2 separate regions of the Homo sapiens genome follow, and region 2 is linked to region 1. The links are contacts of gene promoters, found by promoter capture Hi-C in human tissues and cell types (Jung and others, 2019). All regions are on one chromosome and are shown on one strand. Each heading gives the region's core, a stretch centred on a gene start or on the middle of the fragment in contact. The rest is flanking DNA. Distances are from core to core; before and after follow the strand shown. Region 1 holds the start of RPGRIP1L (RPGRIP1 like). Region 2 holds the start of LPCAT2 (lysophosphatidylcholine acyltransferase 2).

Region 1 (5,265 bases), core at 825-3,324:
CAGGGTCTGTGAACCCAGAGATGGTTTACCAAATTTTGTATGTATATGTATATATGCAATATCTTTTAAAGAGGGTTCATAACTTTTATTACAACTCGCAAATGGTGGAGAACCATTGCATTTTGCTTTTACAGAAACAGCTAACAGACAAATCCTTGGGAGATCATCTACTTCTTTTGGAAGTACTCCTATAGAAAAGGTCAATTTTTAGGATCCTGTTGACACATAGGCCCGTGTATGAAAATGATTAGTTTTCCATGACAGAGTTAAGGTCACTTTAAAAATAATAATGATGATGATGATGATGATGGTGTTAACATTCATTGAACGCTTACTATGTGCCAGGTACTGTTCTAAGTGTTCTGTTATAGGAATGAAGTGTCTCACCATATCCTTGTGAGGCTGTTACTCAAATGATTCCTGCTTTACAAATGAGGAAGCTGAGACACAGATTAGTTAACTCACTTAAGGTGGTAGTTGAAAGTATTAATAGTTGTGTCTGGTGATATTTTTGGTTGTCACAACAAGGAAGCGGGATGCTACTGGCATCTAGTGAGTAGAGGCCATGGATGATGCTAAATATCTTACAGTGCTTAGGAGACATAATAATGAATTATCCAGCCCAAAATGTTAATAATAGTGTAGAAGCTGAAAAACCCTGCACAATGCTGCAATGCCTCTCCAACACCATCTTATGTTATCCTTCTTTGCTCACTATGCTTCACTTACATTATTCTTTACTTTCCTCGAACCCCCCATACCCTTGTCTTGCTCAAGGCCTTTGTATTAGCTGGTTCCTTAATCTTTGGAGCTCAGTTCACTTCCTCAGACAGGTTTTCCCTGACCATCCTATGTTAGAGTAGTCTTCCTTACATTTCTTCACTGTTTATTTCTTTTCTTTTCTTTTTTTTTTTTTTGAGACAGGGTCTTGCTATGTTGCCCGGGCTGGCCTTGAATTCATGGGTTCAAGTGATCCTCCCACCTCAGCCTCCCGAGTAGCTGGAACTACATGTGCGTGCCACCAAGCATGGCTTGTATCTCTTATAGCAACTGCCTCTATCTGAAGTTATCAGATAAAATTATTGTTTGTCTCCACTAAAAAAGGATAAACATCTTGAGACGGGTATTAGTCTTGTTCACAACTGTTCAGGAACAGTGCCTGGTACAGGGTGGGAACCAACATTAATATTTATTGAATGATTGGCTGTGCGTGGTGGCTCACACCTGTAATCCCAGCACTTTGCGAGGCCGAGACGGGCGGCTGACTTCAGGCCAGGAGTTCGAGACCAGCCTGGCCAACATGATGAAACCCTGTCTCTACTAAAAATACAAAAATTAGCTGGGTGTGGTGGCACACGCCTGTAATCCCAGCTACTCGGGAGGCTGAGGCAGAAGAATCGCTTGAACCTGGGAGGAGGAGTTTGCAGTAAGCTGAGGTCTTACCACTGCACTCCAGCCTGGGCAACGGAGCAAGAACCTGTCACACACACAAAAAAAAGAATAAAGAAAAAATATTTATTGAATGAATAAATGAATATCAGGTACTGAGATTAAAATGGCAAGCAAAACCCCCGCCTTTATGAAGCTAGCAAGTTATGGAGGTAATCACATGATAAACAAATAATATATAATTAAGCAAACAATAGACCACTCAGGAGGTTTAGGGTCTACCAACCAACTCCTAATCCAGGGCAAATGAGCAAACTGTGTTAGGGACCTACAACTTGCAGGATCTGGATAGAGATGGCAATTAGCAGCATCAACTCTCACCTTCATGGCTGGGATATAACATTTCAAATTGGTCCTGGACGTGGGGATAAAGGGCGGCCTGTGATTCAGGCCTGAGGATGTGGAGGTGTCTTGGGCTGGGCTGCTTTCACGCCAGCAGAACTCCAGGGCCAACTCCAGGGCCTTCTCCAGGCGGCAGAGCGGACCCTAGGACCCCGGCCCGCGCTGCAGTGGGGAGGGTCAGCAACCTCCACCCACCCTCATCCTCCCCCATCCTCCCGGGTACTCACCGTGCCACTGGCCCTGCAGCTAGCTACCGTTGCTATAGCGCCGACAGCGTGGCGGGCGGCTGGCCGAGAGGAGCACGGGAGAAACATGGCAGGCTCCCGTAGCCTCCTGGGAAATGTAGTTCTCCTTGGACTCTAGCCTGTTTGCTCGCGGGGTAGCGGACTACGCTCTTCCAGCTGTCGGACCTGGGAAATTCTCCTGTGCTAAATCCCGTGGCGCTCGCGGGTGTCGCCGCGGTGCATCCTGGGAGTTGTAGTTTTTTCTACTCAGAGGGAGAATAGCTCCAGACGGGAGCAGGACGCTGAGAGAACTACATGCAGGAGGCGGGGTCCAGGGCGAGGGATCTACGCAGCTTGCGGTGGCGAAGGCGGCTTTAGTGGCAGCATGAAGCGCACCCCGACTGCCGAGGAACGAGAGCGCGAAGCTAAGGTATGTCGGGCTCCCGGGGCCTGGAGATCTTCGTGCGCTGTGAGCAAGGATCAGGGAACCGGAAGGGCTTGGTTTGATGGCGAGCGGATGCGCGGTGTTAAACTAAGGGATGACAGGGCCTTGTCAGCAAGGGACCTGGAGATATTAGAGGGGATGTTACAAATTCGTGCTCTTCAGGATGCAGGCCGAGTCTTGTTGGATCGGCTCAAAAATGAGAAGCAAGATACCCATTTCCTTGTCCTTCTTCTGCATCTATTCCTTGGTTAAATTTGTCGCCATCCCTGTGCCTCAGTTTACCGGATTCTCAGATGACTGTGATCATACCAGCTGTGCTTTCTCATAATGGTCTCTGAGGACTGAGATCGGCTTAGATGAAATATCTGTGCAGTCAGCTGTGTTTCTTTGGAACAATTGTCTCCGTGACCGGCTGATAACAGTTTGTGTCTTTTAGCGCTGTGGATATGAATCTTTAACTACATTGCTCCTCTCTACCTTTGATGTTCAGCTTCTGGTAGTTGCCATTCCATGGGATGACCATAATAATGGCAACAGAGATTTTAAAAAGCATTTATTGTGGGTCAGGCACTGTATTAAGTGCATAATATTTAAATTATTTCATATCATTGTCACAGCAGATTGCAAGATAGATATTATACAGATGGAGTATAAATAACAGCCCAGCTTCACAGATGAAGAACTGAGGCTCAGAAGCATTGAGTGTTTTCCTTTCTCTCATTCCCAAACTCAGATCCTGTTGATTTGTCTACGTATATTGGGAATATGCCCACTTTTTTTTTTTTTCATCTCCACTACCTTGGACCAAGCTACCATTATCTTTTTAATAGACTGTTGGAATAGCCTATTGATTGGCCTACACTCACTCTACACCCTAACTTAACTCTTCTTCCACCTTCTCTCCCTTCCCTCAACTACCATTCTCTTCTGCACACCATAGAGTAAGATCTTCGTGAAATGCAAATATAATTATGTCCCTTTCCTTTCTCCTTACTCTGCCAACCACCTGTTTAAAAATATTCCATGGCTTTCTGTTGCTCTTAGGATAAAGGCAAAACTTCACATTGCCTACAAGATCCTGCATGATCTGGACCCTACCTGCTTTCACAACCCCATTGGATATGACACTCTGCTCTCTGCCTACCAGTCACTTTGGCCTTCTTAAAAGTCACTCTTCACTATACTTTATCGGGCTTCAGGGCCTTTGCACATGTCATTTGCTGCCTACTCTATGTTAGGCAAATATTGGCAGTGAATAACAGTGTTAAATAACGTAGACACAGTTCTTGCTTTCATAGAATTTCATCTTACACGTGAGTCTGTTTAGGGCAATACACCTAAGGATTTAAAATATAAAATCTGCTCTATATTGACCTGAGTTATTGCAGTATTTCGTAAGGGACCAGAAGTTTTCATGCTTGAGTCTGCATATGATGTGGATAATATATTAAAGATAAGCACAAAGAGGGCGACCCTTCTGCTTTAGTCTACACAGTGCAAAGAAACAAATGTCACCTCATGGTGTTGTGCATGATGTCTTTCTCATCTTTCAGGTTTATTTTTAAAGTATTTCATTTATTCTGTGAAGATTTGTTGAGCACCTATTATTTGCCATAAGTTGGGATTATAATTTTGGCTGAAATAGAATCACTGCACCAAAGAAGCTCTTACTCTATTGAAACCATAACCATTGCCTGTGAGGGAGTTACTAGTGTCATCCATATTTTAGAGATTTAGAAACTGAGACTTGTAGGTAAATCGTGACTTGCCCAAGGCCACTTGGTTGCTAGGTGAAACTAGTGCTCTGAGCCAGGTCTTCTGACTCCAAATTCAAGGCTTTTCCCATTTTCTGCTTGTGAAACATGTTGAATTAGTAGAGCAAATTGTCTTCCTTTTTTCTTTAAAAAATTGGCTGTTCATTTAAAATTTGTTTGCTTAATATTATTTGTTAGAACAAAGTATAAGTAGTTGTTTTAAATCTTAAATGTAAAGTGTCCAATGGCTCATGAATTATCTTCTCTTTTTCTAATCAATTTTATTGAGGTATAATTTACATACAGTCATTTGCAACCATTTTTGTGTACAATTTGATGCCTTTTGACAAATGTATATACCTGCAAAACCACCACAGTTGGCATAGCGAACATTTCTCTCCTAAGTTCCCTCTCGTTAATTTGTGGTTAGTCTGTCCCTCCACCTTGGCCCCCAAACAACCACTGATATGTTTTTTGTCTCTGTAGATGCATCTGTATTTTCTAGATTTCATATAAATGGAAGCATACAGTGTATACTTTTGGGTCTTTTTTTCATTCAGCGTAATGATTTTTTTTTCAAAATAGAGATGGTGTCTTGCTGTGTTGCCCAAGTTGGTCTGGAACTCCTGGGCTGAAGCCGTCCTCCTGCCTCTGCTACCCAAAGTACTGGGATTATAGGCGTGAGCCACTGTGCCTGGCCAGCATAATGGTTTTTGAGATTAATCCATGTTGTTGTATGTATCCATAATTTGTTCCTTTTTATCGCAAATTAGTGGCCCACTGTATGGAGATACCACATGTTGTTTATTCATTCACTTGTTGCTGGACATTAGGATTGTTTCTGGTTTTGGACTCTTATGAAAAAAGCTGTTTTTACCATTCATGTATGAGTCTTTCCATTTTCATTTCTGTCAAAAAAAGCTGCTATGACCATTCACCTAAGAGTCTTTACATTTTTATTTCTGTCGGGTAATGCCCAGGAGTAGAATTGCTTAGTTATAGGGGAGTTCTTTGTTTAACCTTATGAAGAAATTACCAGTTTTCCGAAGTG
Region 2 (5,265 bases), core at 1,487-3,986, 1.8 Mb after region 1:
CACAGGTGATGGTGTCTGCTGGAAAGGTCAGAGCTTCCAAAGTAAACAGCAAGAGAACCTCAGGGAGAGTAAGCTCTAGTCCCTCTGTCCTGTAGAAAGAGCCCTGAAGAATCAGCAATTTTGTTGCTTTATTGTGGCATCTGTTCGAGGTTTGCTTCCTCTTTAAGTCTGTTTCTTCATTAGCAATCATATCAGTTTTAATGCTACTACTAACAATGAACAGTAACAATAATATCCCCCTCAATTAATAGAGTGCTTTCTATGTGCAAGGCACTTTTCACGTGTCACCTATTTTAACCTTTCCAACCACATAAATAAAAAAGGCCATTATTAGTTGAATCTTATTGATGAAGAGACTGATGGCTCAAGAGAAGTGATTTTTCCAGGGTCCCATAGCTATTAGGGACCTACAAGGCCAAAGGATAGCCTAGCAGAGGAGCTTTAGCTCTCAAACCAGAATCTCACCACCCTCCGCCACCCTCAAAAACACCCCCACCACCTTCAAAACCGCTCCTGCTACCCTCCACCACCCCCAAAACCACGCTGGGTAAACACAGCTAAGGGAGAAATACTGTGCTTGCTTCTAAACACAGCTGGTATTAATGGATAAGCTCCTTACTCCTTCCTACCAGTCTACCCACTCCTAATCTCCTACATAGAAATTCTGGAGCTACTGCTGAACAGAAATTGAAGGCCTGGGGTTTTTCTGAGGCCCTTTCTGGCTCCGATAGTCTGATTGATAGTATATATATTGCTTCTGGCCTCTTATGATGGGGCTGGTGAGGAAGGTGCGTAAGGAGTGAACTCTACAGGTGACCTCCTCAGTGAGCCTGATGTCATTGTTTCTATCTCTTTTTTCTGTTTTTGAGATGGAGTCTCACTCTGTCACCCAGGCTGGAGTGCAATGGCGCAATCTCGGCTCACTGTAACCTCTGCCTCCCAGGTTTAAGTGATTCTCCTGCCTCAGCCTCCCAAGTAGCTGGGATTACAGGTGCACGCCACCATACCCAGCTAATTTGTTTTGTATTTTGGTAGAGACAGGTATCACCGTGTTGCCCAGGCTGGTCTCGAACTCCTGAGATCAGGCAATCCACCCATCTCGGCCTCCCAAAGTGCTAGGATTATTGGTGTGAGCCACCACTCTCGGCCCCATCTTTTCTATCTTTTATCCTCCCATGGCCTGTCCCCTTGACTCAGATTCTTTTTGTTTCTTCTTCTTCTTTTTTTTTCTTTTTTGAGACAGTGTCTTTCTCTGTCACCCAGGCTGGAGTGCAATGGCATGATCATAGCTCACTGCAGACTTGATCTTCTGGGCTCAAGCAATCCTCCCACTTCAGCCTCCTGAGTAGCTGGGACTGCAGGCATGCAACAGCACAGCCAGCTAATTTTTAATTTTTTTTAGAGATGGTGGAGTCTCTCTTTGTTGCCCAGGCTGGTCTCGAACTCCTGGGCTCAAGGGATCCACCCTCCTCAGCCCCCAAAGTGCTAGGATTACAGGCGTGAGCCACTGCACCTGGCCTGGCTTAGGTTGTTGACAGTTGGAAAGACATCTTTCTGTGCAGGTATCTGGCTAAAGAGTCTCAAGGGTCTGCCAGTCCCAACTTGAAGACCCCCTAGACTGGGGAATCTTCTATCATGGCTGTAATGCACTGTTATTAATGTTCCCTGTTACACTGAGAGAAAAGTCAGTGGCTCCACAACATAATAATGCTTAAAACATGCCATTTCTTCAGTGTTTCTCTATGAACACTACACATGCATTATTTTATTTAATCCTTGCTACAATTCTATGGAGTTAGAATGAATCTCCCATTCCTAGACAAGGAAGCAAACTCAGGTTAAGTGACTGACTCAAGGCCACACATCTATGTGGTAGGGCTGGAAGATTCTGACATTCAGAGGGTAACTTTGGAGAACCCCAGGGCTCAGACTCAGATTTTCATCCTGGCCTTCCTACCTGCTGTGAGAAGAGTTGATCAGTTGGGATGAGTTGATTATCATCTCCTTCCTTTAACTCTCAGCCACTCAGGGTTGATCAACTGTCCTCAGATAATGGGACAAACCCCTGCCCTCCCACCCCCACGAGCACCCACATAGGTCCAAACAGGCTTGAACTTCCTCAGTGTGAAAGGGAGCCACAGCCCAATACATTTCCCTTTTCTGGGTCAGGTTCCTCATCTAGCGTGGAGGGCAACTGTAATTTTTGCCTTTTCTGGTAATAGTAGCTCAGTTTTCCTCTGGAGAACCATCTCTCCCCTGTCAGTCCATTATGTTTTGAGTGAAACAAATTCCACTCCTAGTGCCATCATGGGTGTATTAATATTAGCTCACTTAATGGAACAGCCCAGGGGAAGTGGTTGCTCAATGGCATTACTGGATCCAGGTTAGGATTATCTGAGAATACATTTATCTGCATTTTACGGAAGGCAACCGAGGTTCATAGAGATAGTGATTTGGCCAGCGTCACAGGCCCAGTAAAAGGGATTGAAAATCCAGGTCCGTCCGACCCTAAAGCAGGGAACTCTGCCTAGTGTCTCGCTGTGGAATGTTAGGGATCCTGGGGTACCCTTCAGGGTCTTGGCTCGGAAGGAAAACATTCCCCTCCGAGGGGATGGACTATATTACCAAGGGGGTGGAGCCAGATGCCTGAGGGGGTGTGGCCAGAGCCTGGGGCGTGTCACAGCCGAAGGGGCAGGGCGGCAGCAGCAGGCGTCTAAGTAACTTCAGCGCCTGCGCAGAGGCTCCCCAGCGTCGCCCTAGGCTGGGACTCTAGTAGGTCTTCGGCTCAGTTTTGGCTGCAGCGCCCGCGTAGATCGCTTCGGCCGGGTTCTACGCCCGGCTCAACTATGAGCCGGTGCGCCCAGGCGGCGGAAGTGGCGGCCACAGTGCCAGGTGCCGGCGTCGGGAACGTGGGGCTGCGGCCGCCCATGGTGCCCCGTCAGGCGTCCTTCTTCCCGCCGCCGGTGCCGAACCCCTTCGTGCAGCAGACGCAGATCGGCTCCGCGAGGCGGGTCCAGGTGAGGGGCGTGGGTCTGAGGGGAGAGGTGGTCTGAGGGGGGCCTAGGTCAGAGGGGGGTCCAGGTAAGGGGTGTGGGTCTGAGAGAGGAGGGCGGCCGAGGGGGGCGTGGGTCTGAGGGAGTGAGGTGGTCCGAGGCGGGCGAGAGTCTGAGGAGGGAGGTGGCCTGAAGGGGGCATGGGTCTGAGGAGGGAGGTGGCCCGAGGGGAGCCAGGGTCTGGGGCGGGTCCAGGTGACTGGTGTAGGTCTGACGGGGGAGGGCGGTCGAGGGGCGCGTGGGTCTGAGGGGCGTTGTGGGTCTGGGAAGCAAAGGCATCAGAGGAAGAAAGAGCAGTGGATCTGAGAGGAGAGGACTTCTGAGGGGCCGTGAGCCTGAAAGGGGCGGAGATGTGTGTCTGAGAATTGAGGACATTTAGAGGATGGTCTGAGCGGGCACGGGAGGAGAGAAGATGCTGGGAAGATGCGGGCCTGAGAGGAGAATCCAAAACAGGAAGAGACTGAGCTGGCTGGTGGCGCAGGCTACATTCCATGCCCCAGAAGGTTGAAGGAATCTGTGAATCTGTGACAGAAGCTTCAACTTGAGTTTATGAGAGTGTAGTGGGAGGCAGATCTACTACGGGAGAGTAGATTTGAAGAAGTCTTTTTTTTTTTTTTTTTGCCTTAGGAAGGAGAGGAGTCAGTATGGGATGGATAAGAGTGAGGCAGAAGGCAGAGAGCCTAGGTCTGTGGTTAGAACAACAGGTAAGGCTGGAAAGATTTAGCTGAGCAGGAGCATGATGGAGGGTGGGAAGTCAGAATCAAAGAAAAGGGACAACTGAGTCAGCTTAGGATGTTCAAGAAGTTTTGGTCCAGAATCAGTCTTCACCTAAAAACGTTTCCTAAGTTGAAGCATGAGAAGTAGTAGCCCAGGCTGTTTTCCATTGTTAAAAATGGCTATACTGTTATGCACAAAGGAAGTTTCCTTTCCTTTCCTTTTTCTTGTAAAGGGTTCCTTTTACCATTGGCAGTTGCACTCTTTGGACTTCCTCTTTGTTGAAGTTAGTGATCAGAGAACAAGATAGACCCTGCTAACCACATTTGTCCGTGTGTTCTGCGGGGGTTGGGGGGGTGGGGGAACAATTTTGAAGTTTTCATGTCCATCTCACACATTACTTTGGATTTGAAGCAGTATAATATTTGCAATCAGCTTGTATGCACTAAGACCATTGTCCTCTACAGTGGGGGAAGGTTAAGTGCAGAGCTAAACAACACAGGTGGTGGCTTGAGTAATGGTAGATGGGTGTCTGGTTGAAGAGGGGTGTGAGAGAGGAAGAAGATAAAGAATGTAGTAATACTGCTTTGTGAGGAAATTAAACGTTTAAAAATGTGATCCTCATGTCTTTAAATTAATAGATATTCTTTTTGTGTCTTCACATTCTGAAACATTTGTAAATACATAGACCATTGTTCAAGATTAAATTTAGTCTGATTTAATTAAATCATACTTAAATGAAAATATGCCCATCTATTTGACTTCATATTTTGGAAAGAAACAGCATGGAATGTTGACAAATATTTATATTGCACCTATAATAAATTATTAAGTTTTTCCATCACCTGGTTTGTTACTGTTTAAAGATCTCTTCCAAATAACTCTCTGAGAGTTATAGTATAATGGAATGATAGCTAGTCAGTTATAGGAACTGGTCATTTATTAGTTGTATGACTTTGGCCAAGTCACTTAACCTCTCTGAACTATACTTTTCTCGTCTATTACATTGGAATATTAATAACTCAAAGGAGGGCTACAATTAAGTGAAATAATCTGTTATTGTTTGTTGATCTTAATATTGATAATATTGATAGTTATCCTATATATTTTCTACAAAGTATATACTGTACTTAAAATTTACTACTTGGATTAAATGGGATTTAACAAAGTCTGGATATTAAAAATACTTTTTAAATTTATATAGATCAGAGATACAAGAGGTTTCAGTGGCTTGAATCATCTGGGTAAAGGGAAGATTTGAATAGGCATGGTAGAAAAACAATGTCCATATTATCCAGTTTAAAAGGTGGACACACTTTCATTTAAGTATGACTTAGTATGATTAATTTAGACTAAGTTTAATCTTAAATGATGATCAATGTCTTGCTTAAGGACTGTTGTCCTCACATTTCACTAAGATAGTTAAACAAACAAGTACAAAAATATATAATCTCATGTTTTAGTAAGTGTAATGAAGGAAAACCAGAGAATAACACTG

What was found. The method cuts DNA at HindIII sites, captures the fragments that hold promoters and counts their contacts. A contact is called where the count stands out against the background at its distance.
Region 2: the fragment with the promoter of LPCAT2 here is called in contact with the fragment with the promoter of RPGRIP1L in region 1 in 1 of the 25 tissues and cell types used here (bladder).

What each region holds. Positions count from the first base shown.
Region 1 is chr16:53,701,785-53,707,049 of GRCh38, forward strand. RPGRIP1L (RPGRIP1 like) reads right to left here and starts at 2,075. Exons shown (of 27, transcript NM_015272.5): 1 at 2,019-2,075. It overlaps FTO (FTO alpha-ketoglutarate dependent dioxygenase), which reads left to right and starts at 2,372. Exons shown (of 9, transcript NM_001080432.3): 1 at 2,372-2,445. The coding sequence starts at 2,401. RefSeq lists a silencer at 1,985-2,034 and enhancers at 2,070-2,570, 2,185-2,594. The HindIII fragment of the contact is 17,694 bases long and covers 1-5,265 here.
Region 2 is chr16:55,506,336-55,511,600 of GRCh38, forward strand. LPCAT2 (lysophosphatidylcholine acyltransferase 2) reads left to right here and starts at 2,737. Exons shown (of 14, transcript NM_017839.5): 1 at 2,737-3,017. The coding sequence starts at 2,847. MMP2 (matrix metallopeptidase 2) reads left to right here. Exons shown (of 13, transcript NM_004530.6): 13 at 1-356. The HindIII fragment of the contact is 8,978 bases long and covers 1-5,265 here.